Linked DNA regions of Homo sapiens: region 1 is linked to region 2. Evidence: promoter capture Hi-C in human tissues and cell types (Jung and others, 2019). All regions are on one chromosome and are shown on one strand. The core of a region is centred on a gene start or on the middle of the fragment in contact, and the rest is flanking DNA. Distances in the headings are between cores, read along the strand shown. Region 1 has its middle 34 kb from the start of COL9A1. Region 2 holds the start of B3GAT2 (beta-1,3-glucuronyltransferase 2).

Region 1 (4,617 bases), core at 2,007-4,506, 620 kb before region 2:
CTCTCAGCATTTGCTTGTCTGTAAAGGATTTTATTTCTCCTTCACTTGTGAAGCTTACTTTGGCTGGATATGAAATTCTGGTTGAAAATTCTTTTCTTTAAGAATGTTATATATTGGCCCACACTCTCTTCTGGCTTGTAGGGTTTCTGCAGAGATCCGCTGTTAGTCTGTTGGCCTTCCCTTTGTGGGTAACCCAACCTTTCTCTCTTGCTGCCCTTCACATTTTTTCCTTCATTTCAACCTTGGTGAATCTGACAACTATGTGTCTTGGGGTTGCTCTTCTCGAGGGGTATTTTTGTGCTGTTCTCCATATTTCCTGAATTTGAATGTTGGTCTGCCTTGCTAGGTTGGGGAAGTTCTCCTGGATAATATCCTGAAGAGTGCATTCCAACTTGGTTCCATTCTCCCCATCACTTTCAGGTACACCAATCAAATGTAGGTTTGGTCTTTTCACATAGTTTCATATTCTGGGAAGCTTTGTTCACTCCTTTTCATTCTTTTTTCTCTATTCTTGTCTTCATGCTTTATTTCATTAAGTTGATCTTCAATCTCTGATATCCTTTCTTCCACTTGATCGATTCAGCTATTGATACTTGTGTATGCTTCATGAAGTTCTAGTCCTGTGTTTTTCAGCTCCATCGGGTCATTTATGTTCTTCTATAAACTGGTTATTCTAGTTAGCCCTTCCTCTAACCTTTTTTCAAGGTTCTTAGCTTCTTTGCATTGGGTTAGAACATGCTCCTTTAGCTCGGAGGAGTTTGTTATTACCCACCTTCTGAAGCCTACTTCTGTCAACTCGTCAAACTCATTCTCTGTCCAGTTTTGTTCCCTTGCTGGTGAAGATTTGTGATCCTTTGGAAGAGAAGAGGTGTTCTGGGTTTTGGAATTTTCAGCTTTTTTGCGCTGGTTTTTCCCCATCTTCATGGATTTACCTACCTTTGGTCTTTAATGTTGGTGACCTTCAGAAAGAGTTTTGTGTGGAGGTCATTTTTGTTGATGTTGATGCTATTCCTTTCTGTTTGTTAGTTTTCCTTCTAAGAGTCAGGCCCCTCTGCTGCAGGTCTGCTGGAGTTTGCTGGAGGTCCACTCCAGACCGTTTGCCTGGGTATCACCAGCAGATGCTGCAGAACAGCAAAGATTGCAGCTTGTTTCTTTCTCTGGAAGCTTTCTCTCAGAAGGGTACCCGCCAGATGCCAGCCAGAGCTCTCCTGTATGAGGCGCCTGTCGAACCCTGCTGGGAGGTGTCTCCCAGTCAGAAGGCATGGGGTTCAGGGACCCACTTGGGGAGGCAGTCTTTCCCTTAGTAGAGCTTGAGCACTGTGCTGGGAGATCTGCCGCTCTCGTCAGAGCCAGCAGGCAGGAACGTTTAAGTCTGCTGAAGCTGCACCCACAGCCGCCCCTTCTCCCAGGTGCTGTGTCCCAGGAATTTGGGAGCTTCATCTATAAGCCCCTGACTGGGGCTGCTGCCTTTCTCTCAGAGATGCCCTGCCCAGAGAGGAGTAATCTAGAGAGGCAGTCTGGCTACAGCAGCTTTGCTGAGCTGCAGTGGGCTCTGCCCAGCTCAAACTTCCCATGGCTTTGTTTACTCTGTGAGGGGAAAACCACCTACTGAAGCCTCAGTGATGGCCGACGCCCCTCCCCCCACCAAGCTTGAGCATCCCAGGTTGACTTCAGACTGCTGTGCTGGCAGCTAGAATTTCAAGCCAGTGGATCTTAGCTTGCTGGGCTCCATGGGGGTAGGATCTGCTGAGCTAGACCACTTGGCTCCCTGGCTTCATCCCCCTTTCCAGGGGAGTGAACGGTTCTGTCTTGTTGGCATTCCAGGTGCCACTGGGGTATGAAAAAAAAAACTCATGCAGCTAGCTCGGTGTCTGTCCAAACGGCCGCCCAGTTTTGTGCTTGAAACCCAGGGCCCTGGTGGCGTAGGCACCCAAGGGAATCTCCTGGTCTGTGGGTTGAGAAGACTGCGAGAAAAGCGTAGTATCTGGGCCAGAATGCACCATCCCTCACAGCACAGTCCCTCACGGCTTCCCTTGGCTAGGGGAAGGAGTTCCCCAATCCCTTGTGCTTCCCTGGTGAGGCGACACCTGACCCTGCTTCATCTCGCCCTCCATGGGCTGCACCACTGTCTAACCAGTCCCAGTGAGATGAGCCAGGTACCTCAGTTGGAAGTGCAGAAATCACCTGCCTTCTGTGTCGATCTCGCTGGGAGCTGCACACCGGAGCTGTTCTTATTCTGCCATCTTGCCAGCCACCTCAAGTCCAAATCTTTTATAATGGGGAGTAAGCCTGTTGGGCCTTGCTCTGGAAGTAGGCACTTTTATTACAGTGGAGAGTAAACAAATTTTACTTTGCTCGAGATAAAGACACTGTTGCTACCTTCTTAGGCTGTTCACTATACAGACGTCCTTGAAAAAATAATCTGGAAAAAAACCAGTCAGTATCTCTGAGCATAAGTTGTGCAGAAACTTAAAGGACCCATGGAGAATTGTCTCCCAACACTAACCAACCAGTGAAACTCCACACAAAGATATGTGGTTCATGATTCTTTCTTTAAAGATTTCCAACTGAAGCTTAGCACAGCACTAACCTCAAAACTCCATGTTTTCCATTCCAATCCCAAATTTCCCCTTTATCTTTTTTCTTTTTTTTTTTTGCTCCTCAGCAGTTTCTCTGTATTGAGCCCATTCCTCACTCTCATTTTTGCTCTGGTGGCTGAACTACTTGCTCGTAGCCCCAGATCTTAGATTCGCCTCTGACTCATGTGTCTAGCTCATATCCTCTGGCAGGTTGCTCCCATAGATAATCTACCAGTAACAACTGCCTTATCTAACTGGTACTGGGACTCTGTTACTGCCCTGATAAGGGGGCCTCTCCCCTCAGAGAGCACATATTGACTATGAAACTGATCGCTTCCAGGAATATGTAGGACGATCTATAGGTGACGAAAATCATTACAGGCAACTGGGTTTGGGTTCAGCCTGCTCTAGCATTTCTCTTTGTTTTTTAATGTGTTTCATTCTGTTTATGTGCAATTTTAGTTAATGCTGTTTGGAATAGTCTTTCAGTCTGTAAACCCAATATGTTGCCATAGAAACAGTTCTCCATCTGAAATACATCCAATCAATTCTAAAATTATCATTCAGAAAATCTTCATAAATTAGAAGTAATCCAACAGATACCCAGAATGTCAGCATTTTCAGCATTTAGGTAATGAGCTGCATTTTCTCCTTTTATTTAATTATTTTAAAATCAAGAAATCAACAGCAAAGAATCCAACTTAGATACACAGATGCTCCCTGACTCGTGATACAGTTCCATTCCAATAAACCCATCATAAGTTGAAAATATGTTAAATTGAAAATACATTTAATATATTTAAGCTACAGAACATCATAGCTTAGCCTGGCCTACTGTAAATGCGCTCTGAACACTTACATTAGCCTAACGTGGGGCAAAATCATCTAAAACAAAGCCTATTTTATGATGAAGTGTTGAATATCTCATGTAATTTATTGAGTACTGTACTGAAAGTGAAAAAACAGAATGGTTATATGATATATAAAGTACAGTTTCTGCTGAATGCATATTGTTTTTGTACGATCATAAAGTCAAAAAAAATTCTAAGTCAAACCATTGTAAGCCAAGGACCATGTGTACATGGAAATAGAAAGATATTCAAGCTAGGAAAATTCTTCATTGATTATTTTATTCTGGAAACAACATTATTATAGAACAACATACGCCATTTAGAAAAGACAAGGTTATATTTCCTTTTTTAATTTTTTTTACTTTTATTTTAGGTTCAAGGGTATCTAGGTGTTCAGGTTTGTTATATAGGCAAACTGCATGTCACAGGGGTTTGGTGTACAGATTATTTTATCATGCAGATAGTAAGTATAATATTCAATAGGTATTTTTTTCTGATCCTCTCCCTCCTCCCACCCTTCACCCTCAAGTAGGCTCTGATGTATGTTGTTCCCCTCTTTGTGTCCATGTATTTTCATTGTTTAGCTTCCACTTACAAATGAGAATGTGCAGTATTTAATTTTCTTTTCCTGCATTAGTTGCTAAGGATAATGGCCTCCAGCTCCATCCATATTGCTGCAAAGGGCATGATCTCCTTTTTTATGGCTGTGTAGTATTCCATGGTGTATATATACCACATTCTTTTAATCCAGTCTACAGTTGATGGGCATTTAGGTTGATTCCATGTCTTTGCTATTGCAAATAGTGCTAAGATGAACATATGCATGCATTTGTCCTTATGGTAGAAGGATTTTTATCCCCTTGGGTACTCACCCAATAATGGGATTGCTGGGCCAAATGGTAATTCTGTTTCAAGTTCTTTGAGGAATCACCACACTGCTTTCTACAATGGCTGAACTAATTTACACTCCCAACAATAGCGTATAAGAGTATCCTTTTCTTTGCAACCTCATCAGCATCTACTTTTTTTTTTATCATAGCCACTCTGATTAGTATGAGGTAGTACATCATTGTGGTTTTGATTTCCATTTCTCTAATAATTAGTGATGTTGAGTTTTTTTCATGTGCCTGTTTGTTGCATGTATGTCTTCTTTTGAAAAGGTTCTATTCATATCCTTTGCCTACTTT
Region 2 (4,637 bases), core at 1,718-4,217:
TCAACAAGACCACATATTGTCACAGACGAGGCAACTTCGAAGTTGTAGAAGAAAATAAAAAGACCTTGCGGTTTAAAAATTGTGGTGCATTGAAATGTACAGTCTTTGCTTCAGATGCAAGCCACTTTTTTCTTTTGGAGGGGGGAGCACTGATGCAGGATTAAAAGCCCAGTTAAAAACGTCAGATGGTATCTCTAATCTTGGGTTGAGTAAGGACCATACTATACAATGCCAAGCTTATTTATTCATTTGGAGAAACGTGGAAAGAAAGCCCTCTACAGTGAAAGGATGGAAAAGAAAAGATGAAGGACAATTACTGTGCCTTTTATTCATGAAAGAGAGGATGAATAGAAATGAAGGCGGCAATTACCTTTAAGAAAATTTTTTTAAAGCCACACAGAAAAATTAAACTGGAAGAGTACAGAATAGCTCTGCCCTGGGGTTAAGAAAGCAACCCAGAGATGAGGATGAAAGTGTGGGAAGCAGTTAGGGTATCTGATGACCAGACACACAGATTATTTTAGCAGTTCAGTGTCCAACTCACACATAGTATTTTCCCAATGTCCAGTTTACTTGGGAGAAGGGGAATTGAGGGGGAGTCTCTGAAGCAGGACGTCAAGAAATTTCAGGTGGAGGAAGGCAACAGTCTCACAGGGCGTCAAATCAATCAAGAAGATTTTCTTTGGCTGTAATTGCGTAGACAGAAGAAAACTGAGAAAACCCATGCCACTCAGTCTCATTTGCAGGCTACACACACACACACCGCAAGATACCAGCCTCAAGGAAGAACACCTGTTCTAACCCTGTGCCTGCCGGGGGCGGCGGGGGGGGGCGGTGCGCGCGTGGCCATCCCAGGGAACTCATGGGCCATCTCAACAGCAGGGAGCCCGGATGCACTCAGGACCTGGCTGCACCAGAAAGACGCAAAAGGCCCCGCCAAATGTGTCCTGGCTAACTCGCCAAAAAGAGGCCTTAGAGAAAGGTTGTGAAAAGGGATCAGGCAGCCCAGATGTTTACCTTGGGCTGCAAAAAAGACGTAACCACAGGGCAGAACAGTTTATTTTCCAGAAAGGGTTTTCTTGCAAAAAAAAAAAAAAAGTAATCTTGAGGGTCAGAAAAGACTTTTGTGAGGTGTGGGAAAGAGAGGAAGGACCTCCATAGAAGTCAGTGTTTCTTCTAACAACCATTTCCGTGCCAGTGGGCCGCAATAGTCAAATTTCTCTCTAGGCTATCTCCACCTTTCTCCCTATATGGTCCTAGACTGAGAATCACACCTGTAGGCACTGAAAAGCCTCGAGTAACACCTAGCCTACCCGTCCCCACCACCCCCACCCCTCCACCGCCACCCGCTACGGTGCAGGTCCCTCCCTGATCTCCTATCGCAGCCAGCGCCTGCAGGTCTAAGCTCCATCCTCAGGTCGTCAGGAGCCTGGCCCCTGGAAATCATTCCCGCGCCTCACACCTGTGCTATTCTCTTGACACAATCTCCACACAGAAAAGCCCCAGGGCAGACTCCCGCCCCTTAAGCCACAGTGATCCTCTCACACACAGCCCCTCCACCCCCACGGCCAGCGGAGGCTGCGGAGTGCCAGCAAGGAGCGGCTCCACTCGGTGCCCCGAATGCGCGCACGGAGAACTGAGAACTCAAAAGTGCACCCGGAGTGCAAGGGGCGTGTGACTGCAGCCCGGCCGGCCCGGAGGCCCACTCCCGCCCTCGCCCACCCAGCGGGGCAGGCTGGCCTTTACCTCCTGGAAGAGCTCCAGACTATAGGTGTTGTCGTCGTCAGCGAAGAAGAGCACGCCGGGCTGCGCGCGCTGGTGCTGGTGCCTCTGGCGCAGCCAGGCGAGGCCCGCGTTGCGCTGCTCAGTGGCGCGCGGCAGCCCGGGCCGCTTGTAGCGCCGCGGCGTGGGCACGTGCAGGTGAGTGCTGGGCAGCCCGGCCCGCGCCAGGAAGCGGCTCACCAGCTCGCTGCGCGCCGCCGCGTCCTCCACCAGGATCCAGTGCAGCTGCGCCACCTGGCGGAACGTGTTGGCCAGGCGGGTCAGCTCCGCTTTCTGCACCGGGCGGCTGTAGGTGGGCGTGATGGCATAGATGGTGGGCAGCTGCGGCTCCGGCTGTGGCTGCGGCCGAGACTGGTTGCGCTTTTGGGTCCCGTGAGCCGGGCCGCCCCTGCGGAGCGGGAGTCGGGCGCCCCCGCGGCCCACCGCGTAGGGAGAGAAGTAGGGGCGCGGGGTGAGCGGGGGCACTGGCCTGCGCGTGTCCACGTCGAGCATGATGATGACAATTAGGATCCAGGGCAGGAGGATAAAGAAGCGGGTGAAAAGCGCGGACTTCATGGTGCACGCTCCCTGGCCTCTCGGACACCCCAGAGAGGGGCGAGCCGAGGGACCCCAGTGCGCAGCTTGGACAGCGGCGGCGCCAGCACTTAGGGAGTGGTGATGGGTGCGCTGTCCATGGGGCCGAGGGCGCTGCAGAGACCTGGAGCCGCGGGGCTCACTACCTGGGCGTGGAGGAGCGGCAGGTTCGCGCAAGCTAGAGCGACAAGGGGTGCAGGCGGGCGGGCAGGGGCTGCCCCCGACTCCAGGTGAGCTGGCGGGAAGCGGGACTCGGTCCAGCCGCGCGCCGCCGGTCCCGGAGTTGTGCCGAGTGCGGGAAAGGCGCTGATCCCCACCGCGCTCTTTCTGAAGAGTGGAAGCCGAGAAGCGGCACCCGGTGCGCCTCGCCGCTCCAGTCCGGCGGTGCTGCGGGCACAAGGGCTCCAGCCGCGGGCCCCCAGGACGCTCTCTGGGACGCCTTCGAGGGCGGGCGGCGGCGCTGGGGGCTTTCCTTCCTCACATTCCCGCCGGGGTGGCGAGGAGCGGGTGGAGACGCTGGGGGTTGTGTCCCGGCTGTGTTCGCGCGCCGCAGCGGAAGCCTGCTCTCAGTCCCTTGCTCTTGTCTTCTCAGAACCTCTCCGGATCCAGCAGCAAGATCCCAAAGCAAGGAAAGAAAGAAAAAGCGAGGGGGCGGGGGCGCTGCAGAATCCAGCGTCCTCCCAAGTCCTCCTGTGGGAAGACAGCAGCGCTGCTACTGGTGGAGAGGGGCTGCGAGAGGGAGGCGCGGAGGGACCCCTTGGCTCTCCGCCGGGTCTGGCGCTAACGGCCCCGCGAGCAAGCTCGGGAGGCGGCCGCTGCACCGCGGGTGGAGGAGCGGGAGGAGCGTCCCCGCGGGGCTGCACGACCTCCTGGAGGGGGTGATGCTCGTTCACCTCTCTTCAGCTTTGTGAAATACCGCAAGGTCTTTGGAGATGAGCCAGGAAAATCCATTCACGTGCGGAAATTTGCCGGGCTACGCGCGTTGCTGCTGATGCCTAGGGTTCGGAGTGAAAGGAGGGGAGAAAGCGAAGGGATTCCTCCTCCTGCTCCCAGCTGCTGCGTTGATGTGCTGGGGTGTATCGAACAGCGGCAACAAAAAGCGCTTTCACTGCAAGGCAGACATCAATAGGAGCCCACGGAGATGGAGGGGTGCTGCACATAGGTGTTTGGCATGTGAGACAGTCCATAAGAAAGAATCAATTCGGAGGGCTGCTGCCTGACTGCAGTTTGATCATGGCGGGTGGGGGCGGGTGGAATTCCTAAAACTCCAGCCGAGCATGTTTAACTTATTTTTCTTCAGTAATTTGGAGTCACGGTCCCTCCCAGTTCTTCGCTGTCACCGGAATTACTCCGTTTGGCTCTCCCAAGGCTCCTGTCAAGAAGGCCTAAGAAGTAGAATGGCCTTCATTTTCAGGATAAGGAAGCTGAGGTTCAGGGTTTAAAATGATTTCTCTGAGGTCAGTGGCAAGTGGCATATGGAAATAGAACGTGGGTCTCCTGCGTGTGTCTATAGCTAGTGGCGTCCTCACTGCATGGCCTGCAGAAATCCCACCCAACACAGCCGGGCCGGTTTGGCCTTCCTACATATAAAGATGGTGCGATTGAAATCAAACAGAGTGTACCATGACGAATAGAACCATGATAGGGTCTGGAAGACCCCAAGTAAACAGTTGGCACTTAGTTTAGACACTTTTTGCTGTCTAGCTGGCCTACTAGCTGAGTGCCTGACCTTCTGTAACTTACCAGGAAGAAGGGCTGTGCTTCCCAGGCAGGTCCCAGGGAAGTGCTTGCAAAGCAGAAGGAAAGCTCCAGACTGTTCTGCCCTAGCCTATGATAAATAATTTCTGAGCCCATCTTGTCTGGGTTGTCTGCCTTTCTCGGGCTTGTTCACAAATAAATCTCTCTCCGACTGTGCGTTCTGGTGCAACTGAGAGCTCTGGGGCGAATGGCTCTCCAGCTTTTCTGACAGCTCCTCTTCTCCCAGTCCTACCCCTGAACCCCCCACCTGTTAAAAGGCATTGGCTCATCTGTGAATTTCCCTAACTTCCTCTTCAGATTCTGAAACGTGAGAGTGAAATTTCAGACTAACACCCAGCCACCCCAACAACTCCCTAGAGCTAGCCTTCTGTCCCAACTTCCCTGTGCCATCCACAACTCATACATTAAACTCTGCAGATTAGTGCATCCTAAACATAGAAAACAACGAAGCCATTAGACCTCTTCCCATTCTCTCGAATAGCCTAATGTGCCTCTGAATATAACACAACCTTGGAAATGTATTC

What was found. Contacts are between HindIII fragments. The study calls those that stand out against the background at their distance.
Region 1: a fragment that was not itself captured here is called in contact with the fragment with the promoter of B3GAT2 in region 2 in 2 of the 25 tissues and cell types used here (bladder and lymphoblastoid cells).

What each region holds. Positions count from the first base shown.
Region 1 is chr6:70,334,835-70,339,451 of GRCh38, forward strand. No RefSeq gene overlaps it. Among named protein-coding and RNA genes, the nearest start is that of COL9A1, 34 kb to the left of the region's middle. The HindIII fragment of the contact is 6,663 bases long and covers 1-4,617 here.
Region 2 is chr6:70,954,093-70,958,729 of GRCh38, forward strand. It overlaps B3GAT2 (beta-1,3-glucuronyltransferase 2), which reads right to left and starts at 2,968. Exons shown (of 4, transcript NM_080742.3): 1 at 1,747-2,968. The coding sequence starts at 2,337. It overlaps LOC124901229, which reads left to right and starts at 2,336. Exons shown (of 2, transcript XM_047419611.1): 1 at 2,336-2,436; 2 at 2,540-4,637. The coding sequence starts at 2,336. The coding sequence ends at 3,266. RefSeq lists silencers at 1,560-1,699, 2,170-2,299 and an enhancer at 2,228-2,743. The HindIII fragment of the contact is 7,853 bases long and covers 1-4,637 here.